Regions from separate parts of the Homo sapiens genome. Here region 2 is linked to region 1. The links are contacts of gene promoters, found by promoter capture Hi-C in human tissues and cell types (Jung and others, 2019). All regions are on one chromosome and are shown on one strand. The core of a region is centred on a gene start or on the middle of the fragment in contact, and the rest is flanking DNA. Distances in the headings are between cores, read along the strand shown. Region 1 holds the start of ZNF485 (zinc finger protein 485). Region 2 has its middle 97 kb from the start of LINC02659.

Region 1 (5,126 bases), core at 1,975-4,474:
TCTAGGAGGGACGCTTGTCAGCTGTTCTATCCTTAGCATCCAGAAGTGAGTAGCACGCAGTGGGCCTTTGGTCAATCACTGGTAAATTGGTAAATGAATGCACCATCCTGAGAAATTTTCTTAAAAAAAAAGGCCCTAATTGAATGAGAGAGATACATTTTCCTCCCTTAGCTTTCCAATTCCTGGAGTTAATAAATAGAAACATATGTTTTTCCTAGAAAATAATACATTTGTTAAAACAGATTCAACCTACTTTCATTTTCTATGTCAGCAAATAGTGAGGAAATAATGTTTTTAGTGTTCTAGGTGATGTACTTTTCTAACATGCTTTTTATTTGTATGAAATAAAAACAGGATTATTTGGAAACAAATAGCTATCCAAAGGCACATAAAATATGTCTCTCATACTTTCCGTATCAGTTTCTGGTGGCAGATGTCAACCTAAGCAGTACATTAGAACCACTTGGGGGCTTTAAAAAATCCGAATGCCAGGACCACACTTAGGGCAATTAATTCAGAATCTCTGAAGCTGGGACCCAGGTACCTTCACTTTGCTTTTTTTTTTTTTTGGTATTTATTTCATTCTATTTTCTGTATAACTTTAAGTACATAAAGATTTATTTCCACAGGATCAGGAAATGGGTAGAAATCACAGGACAATCTCTCTTCCCACCAAAAAAGTTGCGTATTTTGGTAAGTGTTTGTCCTAGAGGGAAAAAACTGAAATTTACATTAGCAGTGCTGTGCAAGATTCTTACATAAATCAAGACCTAAAAGCAGCTTGCAGTGGAGGTTTTGGTCCCCTGTTCAGGTGCTTGGACAGAAGCCATAAGCTGGTGAGTGTGACAGGGAAAAGGAGGCAGTGAAGACAGGTGACAGGCACCTAGCAGGGAAGGAGGATTCAGGAATACCAGACTCCTTGGAATGGAGTGTTGTTTTTCCTTTTTTTTTTTTTCATCTCTGTAGGAAGGTGCTGGGCAGGGATCCCAGAGAAAGAAAGGGTTGAATACTCCTTTAACTGCCCTGGATGAAGGGCACTGCTACAGCAGCTAGTACCGGAGACTCTCCTATCTCATGGTTGAGGCAGACCCAGGATAGAATAGTGAATAAAAGGAATGCTTATAGGAAACAATTTTGCGTGGAATGCTAGATGGCCAAGCCTCAGCCTTTGGTCCAGTGCAATCCTTGCCTCACTTGTCAATAGTGAAAAATTAGTTTGGTTAGAAGAACCATCTGGAAACACACCAGCTTCTGCTACCTTCATGCTCATTGTCAGAAAAAGATTAACCAGTGTGAACGTTCTGATCTGTTAATTCCTGGGACTGTTTTCTTCCCAGTGGACTGTTTGTTGGTAGAATAACCCCCAAAGCTCAAAGCTAAAATGCATCATTAGTCCTCGTCGGCAGTTGAGCTGATTTGGAAAAGCTGCACCTTCCTGCAGAAGATCAACTGACCTGCTATCCCACTGCACATCTGAGGTATATTTCAGTGAAGGCAGGTAGCTGTGCTTTTCAGAGCAGAGAAGCAGTTTTAAGAGCAGAAAGGTAGAGGAAATCTAGAAAAGAACCGTCTTGATACAGATTTATCCCATGGTGTGAAGGGAGGGCAAAGAACCCAGTGGCACTTCGCTTATCCAGCAATTTCTGTCACTGTGGCGACAAACTTCTGCCCATTCCAGAGGGTCTTGAACTGCTCAGGAACTGGGAATTCATTAAAGTCACCGCCTTCTGTAGGAATGAGGACATTCATCTCAGAAGATTTGGCACTGGCTATTTCACAATCCAGGGAATTCTTGCTCAGGTAAGCATGGCAGCCATCTGTTTTGTTGATGGAAATGGTTGGCACTTTACTCATCACCTGAACTTTGACATCCCTACTGTTGATTATCTCCACAATGCCCACCATATCATCGAATACCAGACCAAGTTTCTTACAATTATCTACTGTAATGGAGTTAATTTTGCCCTTGATTTGCAACATCGTGTTGACACACTTGTATATGTAAGCCGCCTGTTTCAGCTCTGTGTCATCAATCACCAGATTGGAAACATTTTCCTGATTTTCCACTCTCCACTTCTTGCCCTCCAGTTCAAGTACAGCTGGCTCCTTCTTTGTGGCTGGTTTGGGGTTTAGGTGCAGAGAATGGCTTGGGGCCACTGCGTACTGGACCACTCTGAGCCTTCAGGGTAGGGTTCTTGTGAGTCTTCATGTCATCAGATACACGTTTCAGGGCATGTGTGATGCTCTCCCCCTGATTAATCTGCGCAAACAGTGCTGAGAGGGAAGCGGACTCATCTGAGCCTGAACTGACAGAGACTAGTGGAGGAGGGGGGCCTGGTGGTGGGGGAGGAGTAGCTGATCCAGCAGAGGGTCCAGATGGCAGTCCACTCAGTTCTTTTGTCACAGGCCCCGTTTTGCTCCAGGCAGTCCGGTGGTATGGAACTCCTTAATGTAAGCCTGCAGCTCTGTGCATATACTTAAATAAGCTTTGACTCAGTCTACATGCTTCTTATCCACATCTTTGTACTCTTTAAGGACTCAGTTTGTATAAAACACAGCAGCATGATTCATTTCTTTCACATAAGGGCCAGGATTGGGAGCCATAGCCACCCAGCCTAGGGCCTGGATACTTTCACTGACAGCTGACAGCTGATTAAACAACTTGCTGCCTCGGTTCTTCTCCCAAAAGGTTATCACTTCTTTGATCTGCTCTGAGATAGGTGCCAACAGATCGGAAAGCTTATTACCTGCCGGCTATTGACACTGAGAAGCTGTAACCAAGAGAGCTCACTCCAACTTCAAAACTGTGTGTACCATCTCCACATCTTTCTGCACGTCTTCCCCAATCTCTTTACTGATCTTCAAGTACTCTGCCACAGGGCAGGCAAGCAGCGAGTCAAATGCCTGCGCATATGGAGCTGCTCCTGCTTTTGAAGGACTATCTCCATATCCACGGTGCATGTCAGAGGTATGGGATACTGCCTCCAGGCGGCCCACTGCCCTGTCCAATTTTTTACCAGATTTTGCATGTCAGTCATAATGTATCACCTCCCGACTGCGATCAGCCGCTCTCCACTTCCCGCACCTTCACTTTTCAAAGATTCCCAGGTGATGCCAACCTGCTCTGCGGATGGAGCCCCTAAGACCCCAAGCGGCCCAGACTACGTTTCCCAGAGGCCTCCGCGGCCTCAGCCACTTCCGCTTCCGGTCCAGCCTGTCTCCGCGTGGTGCGAGCGCTGCACCAGCCCCTGGCTGGTGGTTACTGTCCGAACGGCGTGGTGTGGTCGCTGACTCTCTGGGCGTGCAGCTCCGCAGCCCTGCCGGCTCGGTTCGGTTCGTGAGCGGCCGGGGTCAGGCTGGGTCCCTGAAGCCTCGAGCCCCTGGCGGGTGCTCCCCGCCTTTCCCAGGGGCGGGTCGAGGGGCGAGCCGGGGTGGGAGGGGAAGGCGGCGGTGGGCAGTGCCCACCCGCAGTGGCTGCGCCGTGTGGAGCGACCGCTCGAGGCTGGTGCATCACAGAGCGCTCCAGCCTTGCGCCCCGGCCGACAGATTGGGCCACTGACAAGGCCGTCCCCCGGTGCTGCCAAAAGTGTTTGGCGTGGAGCTGGCTGCAGTCCAGGCCGGATCCCAGCAGCCGTTCCCTTTCCTTTCTTCCCGAGCGTACCCACCTGGACCTGTCTGCCCACCTGTGGAGGGAACGGGCGGGCGGGGACCTGGTCTAGAGGGCAGATTCTAGCTAGGCTAGGGCACGGAGGGACTTCCTCAATTTCCTCTCTTCTTTCCCAGATTGACTTACGCAGGATTCTCAGCCCTTGCCTGGGAGAACAGTTCAGGAGACAGATGGCCCCAAGAGCCCAGATCCAGGCAAGTTTGATTTTTCCATTTCTTGAGAAACCACGTGTTTCAGCGAGGTGGGGTTTATGCCTCTTGCCCGGACAATGCCCTGCCCTGTGTGTGGACAAAGCTACCCGAACCAATCCTGGATGGGTCCCGCGATTTCCGTCCTGTCTACCCATTACGTAGTCATTCACCAAGTAGATTATTGCTACCCATGTTTTCTAGAGTGCTAGAAACAGAAAAGTGCTTTGCAAACTGGCAGACGATGAAAAAAATACACGTTAGCATGTAAAGACGTAGGCCATAAAGACATAGGGTGATAGCAGTGCTCTCTTGACCTTTAGTGTGTGGTAGGGTGGGAGGGGTGGAGTAGTGGGCGCCTTAGTTCTTCCTGAAGAATAAATGAGATTTGCATAATTGCAGAGGATACTAGGGGAAAGCGCTGCCTGAATGAAGTCATTATGGCGGGACCATGAACAAACTGGTCTGAGAAAGTTGGAAACATTCATGGTCTAGAATCCCAGACTGGAGTTTGCTTTTATCCTGGAGAAAACTAGGTTTTGAAGGATTTTGAGAAGCTGATTAAATAATTGGTATTTTGAAAGGAAGTGATAAACATTTGAGTGTCTATTATACAAATAAAATTAAAAAAATTAAAGATCACCTACATTTCTACTGCTCTAAGTCAAGTAATTTCATTTGAAACACACTTTTCATTTTTTTAAGGCTTACTCATTTTTTCTTTTAGTATTTCATAGCCATTCCAATTTGTTCTAGTTTCATTACCACTTTTTGTGGCTTCCTTTTATACTGTGCCTTCAACCAGCCCTGGGACCTTGAGCAAGTTCTTCCAACTCTCTGAACCTTTGTGTCTTTAGCTACGAAATAGATTTTACTTTATATAGTTACGGCAGAAATTTAGAGAGATGATATGTATCTCAGGGTTTAGCACCGTGGCTGGTACATAGTAAGTTGTTACTCTTATGAAAAGCAATTTTTTTTTCTTTTTTAAAAATATTCTGCCCCAGAGTCAGATCATACTCCCTGTAAATTCTCGGATAAAGCTAATCACTTTCCATGTCTTTTCAAAGTTTCTATTCATTTGTTGATTGAATAAAGCTTGAACACTTCTGTGTCAGGCAGTGTTTTTGACTGGGAGGCAGCAGTGACCCACACTGTCCCCCTGGAGCTCACATTAGAGAGGATGCTGACAGTCAGTGCAAACCTCTCCTGCCAGGTGGTGAGAAATCCTGTGAAGAAAAGTGAAATGGGTTTCGAGACTGAGTGGCAGA
Region 2 (4,892 bases), core at 824-3,323, 400 kb after region 1:
AAACCCCAGTCAGGACTTGCCAGGGGGACCTGCTCTTCTTGCCCTGACTATGACAAACCCAGATTTGCGACTGGGGGTCCTCGCCCCATCTGCCTCACTTGTTTTCACTCTACTTTCTTCTTTGGGTTTGGGAAATTTGTCAAGAAGACCTCTTTCATCTTCCTCTAGAAAAGAGGTCTGAGAATCTGCCCTCCCTTCCTAGAACTTACCACTGTCCCTAACCCACAACTGGTGCTGACTAAACTCAAGTTGGTTGGATGGATGAAGAGACCATTGCAGGCAGCCCTGGAGAACCTCCCTCTTTCAAGTTCCTTCCCAGGAAAGAGTGTCTCTTGGGGCCACGGTTTTGTCCCTCTTCGCTAGCTTTGCCTTCATGGAAAGAATAGTACAAACATTTACAAAGAGCTCCAGACTGAGAAGGTAATTCCCACTTATTCCCAGCTGGTGTGATGTGAGGAGTGTTACCCCACCAGACCAAGGCGCCCAAATCCACATGCATGCCTAATAGCCAGTGGGACACCTGTGCTTTCTTTCCAAATCCCTCAATGAACTGTCTTGAGAAAGACTCACTCACCCACTGCCTAGATCAACCCATACCACCACCAGCCCTGTCTCTCACACTCTACATTTTCCCTGCCGTGTGGTTTCTGGGCTCAACTTCTTGTTTTTTAATTTCCAGGACCAGAAGCTTTCCTATGGTATTAGCATTATAGGTCTCCATGAAGTAGCTGAGTGGGTCGAGAAGTAGAGTTTATGCAAATAATTGGGGAGTAATCAATACTGTAGCTGGGGTAAATAAAACAATTAGAAAGCCATCAACAGGGAAGAACTAATTCTTCTTGGGGGAAGAGAAGAGCAGGGAACACCATCAGCAAAGAGGTGATGTGGGAGCATTTCAAAGGTGGAAGGAAGCAGAAAGAGAAGATGACGGCACATTCTAAAATGAAGGGAGGAGGGGTTGCAAAGGAATCAAAGCATCCCTGACCTCTCCTTCAATCAAAAAACTGTAAACAGAATATGTTTATTTATATGCGTTAGTATTTTTTCTCTTTGCAGGGGTAATTTTATACCTTTATGGAAAATCATTTAAAAGCCTTTTATCTATTAGAATTAAAAAGTATATAAGAAAAACATAAAAGCAGTAAGGGCAATGTTATTTCAGACAACTCAGAATAATTTAAATCGCCATCTGGAAAGCCCATCAGCGACAGAGCCTTCTGTGGCCTCTTTTCTCTCTCTCTCTCTCTCTCTCTCTCTCGGGCTCACAGGTCAGCCCAGAGCATCTGAACATGACCCACGTGGCCCAAGACTCGTGGTGACTTCTCACGGTGGCATGGCTCTGACTTGGAATTCCCCTGTAGAGGTCCTCCTGGGTGACATCATGTGCATTCCATGCTGTGAGGTGTTTCGAGCCTGTGAGTGTGAACTTTCTTTATGGACAGGAAGCAAAGGAAGGAAAGTGAATTTAGGAAAACAATGGTCATCTTAAAAAAGAGGTCAGATTTTAAACAAAAGTTTACCAGCCTGTTTCATATTTCTACTTATTTGGAAACAAGGCTGTTGAACTGTCCTGACAGGCTCTCTCAGACAGAGCTGGGCCCTACAATGGCGTTTTATGCAGGGCTTTGTGGGGAAATTTGGTGAAACAAGCCCCTGGGAGTTCTGTACCCACCCACGCCACAGGGAAGCCAGGGCAAGCTCTCTGCTTTTAAAGGGCTGGTGTAATAGAGCTCAGGGCTGGTGGGTTAACGGCATTACCCTTATTAACCACCTCATTTAATTCTCACCCTGGTGGGTTGTATCTCCCATCTGAGAAAACAGGCTCAGAAAGTTGTTTCTTGCCTACACTGTCAGCACTAGTGAGCGCACAGAACCGTACCTAGGTTCATTTGATGCCAAATGTTCACCCCAACAGAGGGAGGATAAAGAAGGAAGAGAATGGAGGTTAGAATGAGAACCAGTGAGTGTGCGGCCTGCAGTCAAAGTCTGTAATTGTCTCTCCTGTGGCTTGGCCAGGACAGTCCCGCTCATTAGCTTGTTTGGCCAACAGTGGTTTCTAATGAGGGGACTTGGGAAGATAGAGAGAAAAATAGCAGTCACGTGGTAAAAGTGTTAAGGTTTGTAGATGCAATGAATCAACACAGGGAGAAAATAGTCAAGTTGGGAGAAGAGAAATCACTTCCCCAACATTCAAGCTTAACTGATTTGCTTTGGGTTCAGCCTTCCACTCTTGAGTCCAAATACTACATCATGTCTGAATGTTCCTGTCTTGAAATGGTAACCTAATAATCTTCCCAGTCCTCAGGGAGATGGAGCATTGTTTGTTCCCTTCACCTTCTGCCCTTAGAAAGCACAGTCTTTTGGAAATTATCTTTGGCTCCTTGGATTTAAGCACTGAAGGCACTGCAGCCTTGTCGTGGTTCAGAAAGAACGCACGCTCTCCACGGGCCTGTTCGGCCCCCACTCCAGGAAGATGCCACTTGGCCTCAAAATATTAATGTTGGTGGGTTAAACTGGACCCTTAACCTCCTTTCCAAGTCATAACGGGTATGCAAACAGAGGGGTGGTCCTATGTGAGCTGGAAATAATGTTCTTGGCTGCCGCTTCCTTCTCTTTCTATTTTAGTCCTCAGGGACATGGCTTTTTTGCTTCTTTGAGATTTGGGAGTCTTGAGGTTTTATTGCAAAAAAAAAAAAAAAAGAATTCTGTGTGGTTTTAGAAGGCAAGTCACTTTTGAGTAATTTAAACCCTCATTTATCTAAACACGGAGGCTGAGGACCTCTTAGCGAACTGGGTCCCATGTTATAAAACTTTTGGCAAAGATTTGTCATCTATCCTGTGCTCTGCCCACACTCTTACCTAGCAAGTCCCGTCGTCATCTTTCCAAGCCAGTTTGGTCCTGCTGGTTTCTCTTCTTAGGTGTGCATTTTGTGCATGTATGTGCAGATGCCTGTGCACATGAGCGTGTGCTATACAGGAGGTCATGTTACAGAGAGCAGAGGCTGCGGCTGTTTACCAAGCCCTGCAGCCAGTGAGGTTCAGGGATAATTAAGAGAAATCTCCCTTGGCAGAAATGTGCCTGCTTGGGTCTGCTTCTCATTTTGGACAATTGGAAAAGGCAATCACTCAAGTTTTATTGATGCCAAAGAGTTTTTCACAGTCATCAATATGGGTTACAAAAATGAAGTTGTTGACATCTTATTTCTGGGGTTTTTTCTTTCAGATAATTGTAAGCCCTCAAGCATCATATATTCTGAAATAAGGCAGTTCCACCCCAGAACATAGCATTTTCAATGCACTACATGCAATTGATCTTACGGACATTCTGCCAAATTCCTGACCAATCATATCCATCTGTATCTATCAAGCGCATTCAGAGTTCTCTCGCTGCTGTAAGACAGAGGAAGAGTAAAATCTAAGAGTAAAGTCAGAGTAAAATCTGACCTTGATTTTACTCCAAGAGGTGTGAGATAAGATTTAAATTCTACATGACTGCTTTTAGCTATTTCTTAACATGATGTATATTTTGGGTATTAATTCCTAGGGTGTTGTAGAGTTTAGCTTGCTCCCTTAAGCTCCCTGTTAGTTAGGTCTTCTGGACTGCTTTGTTTTTACTCTTGGACCAACCTGGGCTGAGGCTCTACTTGGGAGCTCAGTTCAGCAGCTGTGAGCCCTGATTATCAGCTCTCTAGGTCCTAGGAACTCATTCGAATATCTGCTAGGTTTCCCAGCTTCCACGGGCTGGAAGAGGACATCTTTCCTCCCCATTTGCAGAGAGACAGCAGCCCAGGACTGAGCTCTTGGCAGCAGCCCTCTGTCCCTGTCATAGAAGGCCAGGCTCTGTGCCCAGATGATCATGATGGGGCATAAGGCTGGCTTAGCCAGTCAGGGGCTGCCCTCTGTGAGCTCAGAGGAGACTTGGGCAGGCCTTGGTGCCTGCCCCTCATGGCATGAGGAGCCATGCTGATCTCATGAAGGAGGAGCCATTTCCCCCAGGTCAGCTCCCTGAGGGCTCAGACCTGAAACCAGGTGCACAGGAAGCTGAGTCACTAGGGGCCAACACAGTTGCTCTCAGCCCTGGGGAACGCAGGGGAGCTCATTACAGCTGGCAGAAGTCCTCACCATAAAAGCAGAGGTATTTACTAGCCCAGGAAGGAAATGGAGTGACCCATATGTAGTATTACCATGGAGGAACTCTATGAAAGTCACAGTTTTAGCCATCTTTTGTTTAAGATTAAAGAGCTAAGTAGAATAATGGAATAAGTTGAAGGTATTTGTCAGGCCACCGGGATGATGTCATTTGCTTTCTGTCATTTCTAAAACTGGAGCCAATTTCAGAAACTGAAGCCACCCCTTGCCAAATTATCCTCCTCTATTCTAGAGGGTAAATACTATTCTAGACTGCTCTTACCAATCTCCACTGAAATCCATGTACACATCTATAGTTCCTTTTTGTGGAAAAGAAGTCAAAGTTTAAATAAGTTTCCCAATGCCACAAAAGAGTTAAACAATCTGGACATTTTTCTCAGACCACCTCCTCTATCATCCATCTAAAAATGTGCTTCTCCCTCCAGATATGTGCAATGCTGCAATCAGTTGCCATGGAGACCACACTCTGGCCCTGTACCCTCAACAGCATGGTTAAATAAGTGGTAATGTCAGACCTCTCAAAGCATCTTGGCGGCCCCAATCCAGGTCCCAGAGCTCCAGCCAGCACAGGCCTGGCCAGCGTGGGCACCGGGCTGGGAGCTTGTGGGAGCCTGGGTGGTCTGGTGCATCCCTGGCCAATGTTTAAATGCTGACTTCACGTGTGGGGTTGCCCTGGTGGGTTGCGGTAGAGACACTCCTCCCATGAACTGCTGATAAGAATGAACATTGTAAAAGAAACAATT

Evidence for each region. The method cuts DNA at HindIII sites, captures the fragments that hold promoters and counts their contacts. A contact is called where the count stands out against the background at its distance.
Region 2: a fragment that was not itself captured here is called in contact with the fragment with the promoter of ZNF485 in region 1 in 1 of the 25 tissues and cell types used here (H1 embryonic stem cells).

The regions. Positions count from the first base shown.
Region 1 is chr10:43,603,214-43,608,339 of GRCh38, forward strand. It overlaps ZNF485 (zinc finger protein 485), which reads left to right and starts at 3,225. Exons shown (of 5, transcript NM_145312.4): 1 at 3,225-3,333; 2 at 3,784-3,861. The coding sequence starts at 3,838. It also overlaps the pseudogene CAP1P2. RefSeq lists an enhancer at 2,931-2,980 and a silencer at 3,261-3,540. The HindIII fragment of the contact is 5,082 bases long and covers 801-5,126 here.
Region 2 is chr10:44,007,122-44,012,013 of GRCh38, forward strand. No RefSeq gene overlaps it. Among named protein-coding and RNA genes, the nearest start is that of LINC02659, 97 kb to the left of the region's middle. RefSeq lists enhancers at 1,246-1,565, 3,696-3,775. The HindIII fragment of the contact is 4,225 bases long and covers 1-4,186 here.